Regions from separate parts of the Homo sapiens genome. Here regions 1 and 2 are each linked to region 3. Evidence: promoter capture Hi-C in 16 types of primary human blood cells and fetal thymus (Javierre and others, 2016). All regions are on one chromosome and are shown on one strand. Each heading gives the region's core, a stretch centred on a gene start or on the middle of the fragment in contact. The rest is flanking DNA. Distances are from core to core; before and after follow the strand shown. Region 1 holds the start of MFN1 (mitofusin 1). Region 2 holds the start of ZNF639 (zinc finger protein 639). Region 3 overlaps FXR1 (FMR1 autosomal homolog 1).

Region 1 (2,960 bases), core at 118-2,617, 1.6 Mb before region 3:
TTGAGACTACCTATGCTCAGAACTGATGGATTAGCTGGCACGACCCAGACCGATAAACTGGCTCATCTGACCTAGTGTCCCCCAACCCAGGAACTGACTCGTGCAGAAAGACAGCTTCCACTCCCTGCGATTTCATCCCTGACCAATCAGCACTCCTGGCTCAGTGGCCTCCCCCAACCCACCAAATTGTCCTTAAAAATTCTGCTCCCCAGTGCTGCTCGGGGAGACTGATTTCAGTAATAATAAAACTCCAGTCTCCCATACAGCCGGCTTTGCGTGACTAAGTCTTTATTTGCAATCCCCCTGTCTTGTATCAGTTCTGGCTAGTCAGCGGGCAAGGTGAAGGCTTTCCTTGGGCGGTTACCATCCGAAGCTTTAATTTTAAGTATAATGGCAAGCTGTTGGAAAGCTTTTTTTTTTTTTTTTTTTTTTTTTTTTTTTTTTTTGAGATGGAGTCTGGCTCTGTCGCCCAGGCTGGAGTGCAGTGGCGCGATCTCGGCTCACTGTAACCTCCGCCTCCCGGGTTCAAGCAATTCTCTGCCTCAGGCTCCTGAGTAGCTGGAACTACAGGCGCCCGCCACCACCACGCCCGGCTACTTCTTGTATTTTTAGTAGAGACGGGCGTTCACCGTGTTAGCCAGGATGCTCCCGATCTCCTGACCTTGTGATCCGCCCGCCTCGGCCTCCCAAAGTGCTGGGATTACAGGCGTGAGCCACCCCGCCCGGCCTGGAAAGCTTTTTAAGTTCGGAAAGTAATACGATCTGGATTTCTTTTCTTTTATTTATTTATTTATTTATTTGAAAAAATGTCTCGCTCTCTTGCCCAGGCTGGAGTGCAGTGGCACGATAAATCACAGTTCGCTGCAGCCCCGGGCCCAAACAATCCCCCCGCCTCAGTCTCCGAAGTAGCTGGGACCACAGGTGTGTGCCACCACGCCTCGCTAAGTTTTTAAAATTTTTTTAATTTTTCATTTTTTAATTTTGTAGAGACGGGGAGGAGGAAGAGGGTCGGGGGCGGGGGGGGGGGCGCCTCCCTATGTTGCCCAGCCTAGTCTCGAACTCCTGGGCTTAAGAGATATCCCACCCCTTCGGTCTCCCAAAGTGCTGGGATTATAGGCGTCAGCCACCACCATCATTGGAAGCTAGCTAAGCCTAGGCTGGGCAGATACTTGGACACTTTGAGGGGAGAAGGGAGGGGAAGAAGTTGGAAGGGGGAACGGAAAACCACTCTCCTGGTAGCAGTCTCTGCCCACAACAAACCTTGCCTTCTGCCCTTAAGGAAAATGGCGCCTGGCATAGATGCGCTTCCGGCCACGGAGCCAAACAGAACAGAGGAGGCAAGAGGCCGGAAGTGACCGCCCTTTGCCACTCCCCCTGCCTCCTCTCCGCCTTTAACTTCTCGGGAAGATGAGGCAGTTTGGCATCTGTGGCCGAGTTGCTGTTGCCGGGTGATAGTTGGAGCGGAGACTGTGAGTGCCGGCTGCCTCGACAGCACGTTTGCGACGCTCGGAGTGACCTTCGAGCGACTGGGGACCGGGGGCGGGAGTCGTGCATGCAGCGTTGTGTGACGAGGCGCCGCCCGCCGCGGTCCTGTGGGAAAGGAGAGAGCCAGCTGTCGGGCGAACGGGGCTGGCGGCCGAGTCGAGCCCACGGAGCCCACGAGGCCGTGCTCGGGGGTGGGATTGGGGGATCCGGACCTAGACGGTCGTGCGCGGGGCGGGGGTGGGCTCTGGCCCTGACTCCTGCGCCCGGTGTGGGAAGGTGGGAGGCCTTTTCTAAGGCAGGTGTTCACACCGGCCGGACCGGGGCGTTACCCCCACCCGGCTTTTCCCACGCAGCTCCTTCGCGCGGTCATTTCTTGACTCTCTGGAAGAATCCGCCTTCTTTATGGCCACTGTTCCTTTCCATGTACACACCAGGATTAGACCGTGATTGTTTGTCTTTGGTGTCTTTTTCTTGAGAAACCACCTATGCTTTCTTAAACTTATAGTCCTTGAAGTTTCTGGTACTTTGGCTGGAAGCGTTAATGCCCTCTTGAAGCCTTACCTTTCTAAATGTCAGCCTCACATTGTGATCTTAGAATTTTATTTCCTCACTCTGCATATCCACTCCTACTCACCTAGAGCTTCAGGTTGAGAAACTTAGTAACTTCCTTATTGTGTGTGAATTTGGCTTCGCCTCACTAACCCTGTTCCCTGATGTACTTTAGAGTCACATGCAGTGACAAACTTAGTCACAATTAGTTTCGTCTTCACCAAAGGGAAATTGAGTAGAAATTGCAACCAAGATTTTGGCTAATAGATTTCACTTATTTTAGTGAAATATCATTCAAAAGTCGTCTCTAACTGTCTGACTAGAACACTCCCAAAAAAGAATTACCTAAAAACATTTTGCCAGCATAATTTATTTCATTGGGGAGTTGATGAATGTCACTGGTGTGTCATCAGTTTGCATGTCTATCATCCACTTTAGTTGGTGCTTTTCTAACTTTATCTCCCTCTAGTAGCATAATGGCAGAACCTGTTTCTCCACTGAAGCACTTTGTGCTGGCTAAGAAGGCGATTACTGCAATCTTTGACCAGTTACTGGAGTTTGTTACTGAAGGATCACATTTTGTTGAAGGTTAGTTCTTCTTAAGTTTTTAAAGTAATTACTGTTGAAAATATATAAAAGTGCTTATTCTTTCAACGTTAGTTATTGAACACATGTATAGGGCATTATACTGTATACTATGAGAAGTACCATAATGAATAAAACCCCTTTCTAACCTCCAGAAGGGGAAAATTAAATGGTATTAATAACAACTAAGAACTTTAGTATATTAATAGCTCATTTAATTTTCATCACCACTAGGTGATGAGAAATAGCTATGTTAATAGTTCATTTAATTTTCATCACCACCATCTGTCATTTTAAAGATGAAGAGACGAAGTCAAAGAAAAGTTAAACAGTTTGCCCAA
Region 2 (3,101 bases), core at 528-3,027, 1.6 Mb before region 3:
ATCCCATCTCTGTACTGGAGCCTGGGCGACAGAGTGAGACCGTGAGAAAGAAAAAAGAAAAAAAAGAAAAGGAAGGAAGGAAAGGAAGGAGAAATTAAGCTATTCTACAAGTGTGTGAAAAAGTTGGAAGAACGATGTTTTAATAGCCCTGAATCAAATTTATAATAGTATTTAACAAACTCTACAATTTAGCACTCTTGAGATTTTAGGGTTTTATCCCAGCTATCACCCTCCCTTGGAGCGGGAGATGAGGAAAAGAGGGACCCAAAAATGAAACTGAAAAACACTCCAGCTAATCAAGAACTTGAAATTGCTTGCAATTTGTGACTATGTTAAACAACATCTAAACAAAGTCAAGCTCCTCTAAGTGCAAACAATACGTGGGATGCTGGGGAGAGTGTGCGTTTACTTTCACTACAAAATGTTTTGGAGTAAAACTTCATTTTGAAATATAAAGATTTTGTTGGACACAAGGCTATGTGGTAAGGCAAAATGGTAAGATGGTGGCATGACACCCCCTTGTGGTTTCCACCGATTCCCGGTTCTGTGCTAGATACTAACTATTCTAGGATTTAAAAATGTCTCTACATTTCTTCGAACTTTAATTCGGGCCATACTAGCATTCGTGAGCATTTATTTGAGCTGAGTACGCACATAAAACTTAGGAGGTCATAAAAACTGAGCCTCACAAACAAGTAGTGTCTCTTTCAAATATAGCTTTATCTCCTGGGGGATGGTGAAGGGATCAGAGTAAAGTCTGTGATTATTACTTTCCAGCGATTGATTGGTTGATTGGCATGTGGTTGTCAGAAAAAGCAGTGGACGTGAACAAAGAGACATCATTGCAGCCCTAACTATCCGAGTGACCTTGGGTACCTGATAATCCACATGGCTCTCAGTCATCCTCTTAACCGTTTGAACCTCAGGGGTTTAGGCTACCAAAATGAATTAAGACCCAGTCTTTAGCTTCTCACACATTTACTTTTCCATTTTGTAAAATGTGACTAAAAACCTCAACTCATTGTCAAAAGGACTGAATTAAACATATCACCACACTTGCACAGAGATCATTTATGGAACCATGTTCACAAATTTATTTATGCTCGTGTAATTTAATCATTTCTACAGCTGCTCAAAGAAAGTCAAAGTCGAGAAAGGACTTAAATCGTCGAGTCCAGTCCCCCTTAACTCCTCATTCATTCCACTATTTCTCGAGCCAAGGAATCGGGTGAAACTCAACAACGACTCGCAGTCTTCAGGTTTCACCCTCTTGCCCTGAGGGCAGCATCCTAGCCCTAGGTGGTTCTCTGGTGTGGCCTCAGTAAAACCGTGACGAGGTCCTCGGCCTCTCTGTCCCCAACAGGCGGCTGGCACACTTCGGGGTCTGAGATGCCATCTGCCTTGCCTAACCTGGGCAAGACCACTCGCGTCCTTTCCCTTGAGGAGCAGCGTGGGAAAGGTGCCGCTGCGCGCCACGTTTCTCCCAGTTCCCCAGGGCTTGAAGGGGCGGTGGAGGCGGGCGGGATAAATTCGCTGGCCGCCTGGCGTGGAGTAATCCTAGAGGGTGGGATCGCCCTCGGGGCTCGGGAGGGGCTCTTCCCCGCCCAGAAGGAGACTGCGGCGGCGCAAGGCCTCCGGCAGGGGGCGCGGGCCGCTGGGCCTCCCCCGGGGCTGCGGGCCGGTGGTCCCTCCCAGGCCGCGTGTGCGGTGCGTTCGCGCAGCCCGCTCCCTGCCCCCACCTCACCTCGTCACCTCCCCGCCCTCTCGGCGGGCCCCTGAGGTGCGCGGCGCAGGCGCGGAGCGTGGCGGCCAGGGCAGTGCGGCCGCGGAGCCTAGGCCAGGGGCCTGGCGCTCAGGGCGTGGGGCGCGCGGGGAGGGAGAGGGGTCGGCCCAGCACAGCGTCCGGGAGCGCTAGGGCCGGAGCAGCGCTGCCCGCCGCCGTGCGTCCGCGGGAAGGACCGCGCGGCCCCTCCGCCTGCGCTCTCGGCCGCCGCCGCCTCTGCGTGGGCCGGCCGGGAGGGCCTCGGGGGACTGACTGGTGAGTGTGAGGGAGGAGCGGGTGGGTCGGGCGCTGGACTGCTCCAGGGGACGCGGGCGTGCGGGCGCATCTTCTAACGGGAGAGGGCGGGAGAGACCGGAGCTCCCTTTATACGGAAACTCTGCCTTCGTTATATGGCGGGATGGCGTTCCCCTCCCCCATCCCGAAGGCAGTTCCACCCCCTGCGCAGGACGCCTTGGCCGGGCTCCCCTCGGCCCCCTGCTGCCGTTGTCTTTACGGAACCTTTGGTGTCGGGGCTTGGAAGTCTCCTTGGCGCCGGCTTCTGGGCCCGGGCGAAGCTGGTGCGTGGCGCCGGGGTGGAGGCGGCTAAGTCCCAGGGACTTCTGCCCTGCGCCTCCGACGGGCATTTGTCTGGCTGCGTCCGGGCTCGGGACGATCCTGGGTCCTCGCTGGCGCTGCGGCCCTGCCCGGCGGCTTCGTGACCTCCGGCGGCGAATCCCCGGGCTCGCGCAACGAGTTGTAGCCGCGGAGAGCAGGCGTCGATGCTGGCGCCCAAAGCCTCCAGCCTGAGAGTCGCCTCACTCGTGTGACGGTGCTTAGAAACCCCCTTTTTTGGTTTTGTCTTTAAGTACTGTCTAGGGAAACGAATCATTTGAAGCAGTTTATGCCTTTTTTGTTTTTTTCGAAGAGAAAGATTTATGCCGGACTGAAAAATAGCGAATCAAGTATTTAGTGACCGTGTGATATTGCAGTAAAGACTGCCTCCACGTTGGACATGTAGTGGATTCTAGTTCAGGCTCTCCTGCAACATGTTTTTGTTTCAATTCTTTTACAATTTAAAGCATATGCTTATTTTAATGAGAACGAAAAAGAAAGCTTAACTCTTTTTAAACTCGTTAAAAATGGAGTTATTTACTGTAAAGACGTCTTACAGCAATTAGGAAGAATATACATTGCATGAAAGGCCTTTTGAAACGTTTATCTATTTGATGATTGCTGACTGCCTGTTGTATGTATTCTATTTTGTGCATAGACTTTCTTGTTGGTTGAAAAAAATGACAGGTGGAAAGATGTTGGTTTCTAGGTGATATAAAAAATTTTT
Region 3 (3,173 bases), core at 538-3,037:
CCCCCACCCCTTTCCCGAAAAGTTTTAAATTCTCACTATTTGGCCCTGTAGTTCTTGTATAAGGGAGGTATGCATTTTTTCTTGCATATTGGAAAAAATAAAGTGATTATTTTGCTTTATTTCATGGTTCTGCATCATGCATGTGGTAGACAACTATTTTTAGCAAAGTATATTTGTCAATAGCCTGCTATGCAAGATATTTTTTCCTTTTTTTAATAAGGTGAAGGTAATTTTAGTAAAGATTGTTTGCAGTCTTACTTTGGTTTCTCACGGTATTTTTTTTTTCCAGTCAATTCACAATGAATCAAATGTCCCCATTTTGGAACTCTGAAGTATTTATAATTGATCTCTATACATATCTACAATCTACTGCTTGTTTCTACTTAGACTTTGACTCCATTACTCATTTTGCCTCACAAAGTGAGTTGGTACTTTGACAAAGGTTGGAAAGGACACTAGCCACCTGTGTGTGCACTGAAATCATGTACGCTTGAACATTTGGAATTTTATGTCCAGCCATAATCCACTTGCATATGCACTTTGTGGAAACTGTGGTCTTCAGAACTCTGGAAGAATGAGAATGGCGGAGTGGAAAAGAGTCCTGGATTTGAAGTAAACAGATGAGAATTCTAGGTCTGTACTTCACCTTACCATTATCTAACAATGGACCCCTGAACAAATCTCTCTGTCTAACATGAGGGGCTTGAAGTAGTTCTGTGATCCCCAGTATATTTTTATCCTATTAAACTGCTGACTTGAAAACCATTGGCTTATTGCACAGAAGTTTATTGCTTTTTATTCATTAGAATGTAAAAGTTAATGTTAATTTACATACAGTAAAATAAGCCTTTTTTGGTGTACGGTTATGAATCTTGATAAATGCTGACAATTATCAAGATTAACTGTCACTTTAACTGTGGTGGTGTCAGCATTTATCAAGATTCATAGCCCCCAAATTTCCGTCATGCCCTTTTCAGTCAACCATTCCTCAACCCCAGCTTCTAGAGTGTTTTCTGTCCCCATAGTTTTTCTTATTCAGAACGTTACGTATATAGAATCGTACACTATATTGTGTAGTGTTTTGAGTCCGGCTTCCATTTAGCGTAGAAGCAATTTAATTTTAATTAGTTTTTTTCCAATTTAGAAGATAATACATGGTCACTGAGGTAATTTTGGAACTCAGCAAAAACTAGAAGTTGCCTTGAGATGAGAGCTGTTAACATTTTAGTGTATTTCTTTGGTTTTTTTTGGTGGTTTTTCAATGTACAGGTGATCTGAATTTCCCTTTTTTCCCCTCCTCTTACCCCGTATAGGCAGAAGACACACATTTGGCCGTAAGTGTGAATTGCCATTGATGAGTTTCAAAGTCAGTTATCATGCCTTGAGGCAGTACTCTGTAGACTTTGATTAAAGTTTTTGTAGTAGAACTGAAACTTCATTTCACAAATTAATTGGAACCAGTGAAACGCTGAAGATCTGAATATTTTACCTAAAATTAGGGTAGCCTTTAAAAAATAGTATGTACACAAATGGTGGCATGCTAAATACATTGTTCTGCATTTAACAGTGGCTCTATAGTTAGAGATATTAGAAACTTGATTTGTGCATGTTCGTAGCCCTATAAATCTGCGGGGATGAGAGAGAATGGGAAGATGTTAATTAAGCATTTGTTGGTGGGCTATGCTGTTATATAAAATAACATTATAGGCTTTGTACTTTTGTACTTCTCATACCTAAAGTAGCATCTTAGGTTTTATACTACTGGACATTTAAGGTGTCTTGAAAAAGAAAGTTTTAATGAGGTAGAATGTATATTCTATAAAACAACCTTTTTTAAGTGTACAGTTGAATGACAGTGTATTTACAGAGTTGTGTAACCACCGCCACAGTCTTCCTTCAGAACGTTCCATTACCCCACAGAAACCTCCGGCTCATTTGCATCATTAAAGTGCTTTTTAACTGATGTATAAATATATATTAGTCTTTGTAATAGCATTGCAATTTGTATGGCCTTGGGCTGAGTATAATTTCATTTTATTTTTATTTTTTGAGACAGAATCTTGCTCTTTTGCCCGGGTGGGAGCACAGTGGTGGGAGCGCAGTGGTGCGATCTCGGCTCACTGCAACCTCCACCTCCCAGGTTCAAGTGATTCTCCTGCCTCAGCCTCCCAGGTAGCTGGGACAACAGGCATGTGCTAACATGGCCGGCTAATTTTTGTATTTTTAGTAGAGACGGGGTTTTACTGTGTAGGCCAGGCTGGCCTCGAACTCCTGACGTCAAATGATCGCCCTCCTCGGCCTCCCAAAGTGCTGGGATTACAGGTGTGAGCCACCACGCCCGACCATGAGTATAATTTTAAATAGAAGTTGGAAGTAAGTCACTCAGTTTCTGGCTCATAGGAAAGTTTCCATGATGTTCGAAGGGAACCTGTAAGCTCTGAGATTTCAGTCACTTTCTGCAGAAGGTAGAGTTACATTTTTTTGTTTTCTTGAGACGGAGTCTTGCTCTGTCACCAGGCTGGAGTGCAGTGGTGCAATCTTGGCTGGCTGCAACCTCTGACTCAGTGGTTCAAGCGATTCTCCTGCCTCAGCCTCCTGAGTAGCTGGTATTTCAGGGACGCACCACCACGCCCAGCTAATTTTTTGTATTTTTAGTAGAGACGGAGTTTCACCATGTTGGCCAGGATGTTCTCGATCTCCAGGATGGCCTCCATCTGTCCGCCTCGGCGTCCCAAGGTGCTGGGAATACAGGCGTGAGCCACCGCGCCTGGCCAGAGTTAATTACTTTTAGAGCTGTCTGCTTCCACCGTGTAACTGTCTACAAAACAAATCTCAAAGTACTATATTTCTATAATTCCCTGTTTAGCTTGATTTAATATTAAGTGGAATTTGAGCGTAATCTAAATTATGCATAGATATATTAATAATGATGACCAATAGAATTATAGTAAAAAGTTGCGTTCAGAGGGTATGCTGACTTTTCAAGGTTAGTACAGAATCTTGTTAGTTGGTTTCATTGTGGAGATTTGTAATTGAAAAAACGATAATTGTCTTAATATTAGGCCACCCTGTTAATTTAAAAATACATAGTTCCAGATAATTTAAAATGGTTGTTTTGCATATTTAAAAAGATAATTTTCATTAAAATGCTAAGTAATGAAGATTTAACTGGA

What was found. Contacts are between HindIII fragments. The CHiCAGO score rates a contact against its expected background, and 5 or more counts as called.
Region 1: a contact is called between the fragment with the promoter of MFN1 here and a fragment that was not itself captured in region 3, in 1 of 17 cell types (non-activated CD4 T cells). The highest score is 6.1, in non-activated CD4 T cells.
Region 2: a contact is called between the fragment with the promoter of ZNF639 here and a fragment that was not itself captured in region 3, in 1 of 17 cell types (naive CD8 T cells). The highest score is 5.3, in naive CD8 T cells.

The regions. Positions count from the first base shown.
Region 1 is chr3:179,346,342-179,349,301 of GRCh38, forward strand. MFN1 (mitofusin 1) reads left to right here and starts at 1,368. Exons shown (of 18, transcript NM_033540.3): 1 at 1,368-1,469; 2 at 2,504-2,622. The coding sequence starts at 2,511. RefSeq lists enhancers at 1,077-1,606, 1,940-2,159 and a silencer at 1,660-1,819. The HindIII fragment of the contact is 3,693 bases long and covers 734-2,960 here.
Region 2 is chr3:179,321,254-179,324,354 of GRCh38, forward strand. ZNF639 (zinc finger protein 639) reads left to right here and starts at 1,778. Exons shown (of 6, transcript NM_001303426.2): 1 at 1,778-2,038. RefSeq lists silencers at 1,508-1,947, 1,978-2,117 and an enhancer at 2,688-2,737. The HindIII fragment of the contact is 4,241 bases long and covers 1-2,873 here.
Region 3 is chr3:180,914,363-180,917,535 of GRCh38, forward strand. The region is part of intron 1 of FXR1 (FMR1 autosomal homolog 1); the gene reads left to right. Among named protein-coding and RNA genes, the nearest start is that of FXR1, 3.3 kb to the left of the region's middle. The HindIII fragment of the contact is 4,178 bases long and covers 1-3,173 here.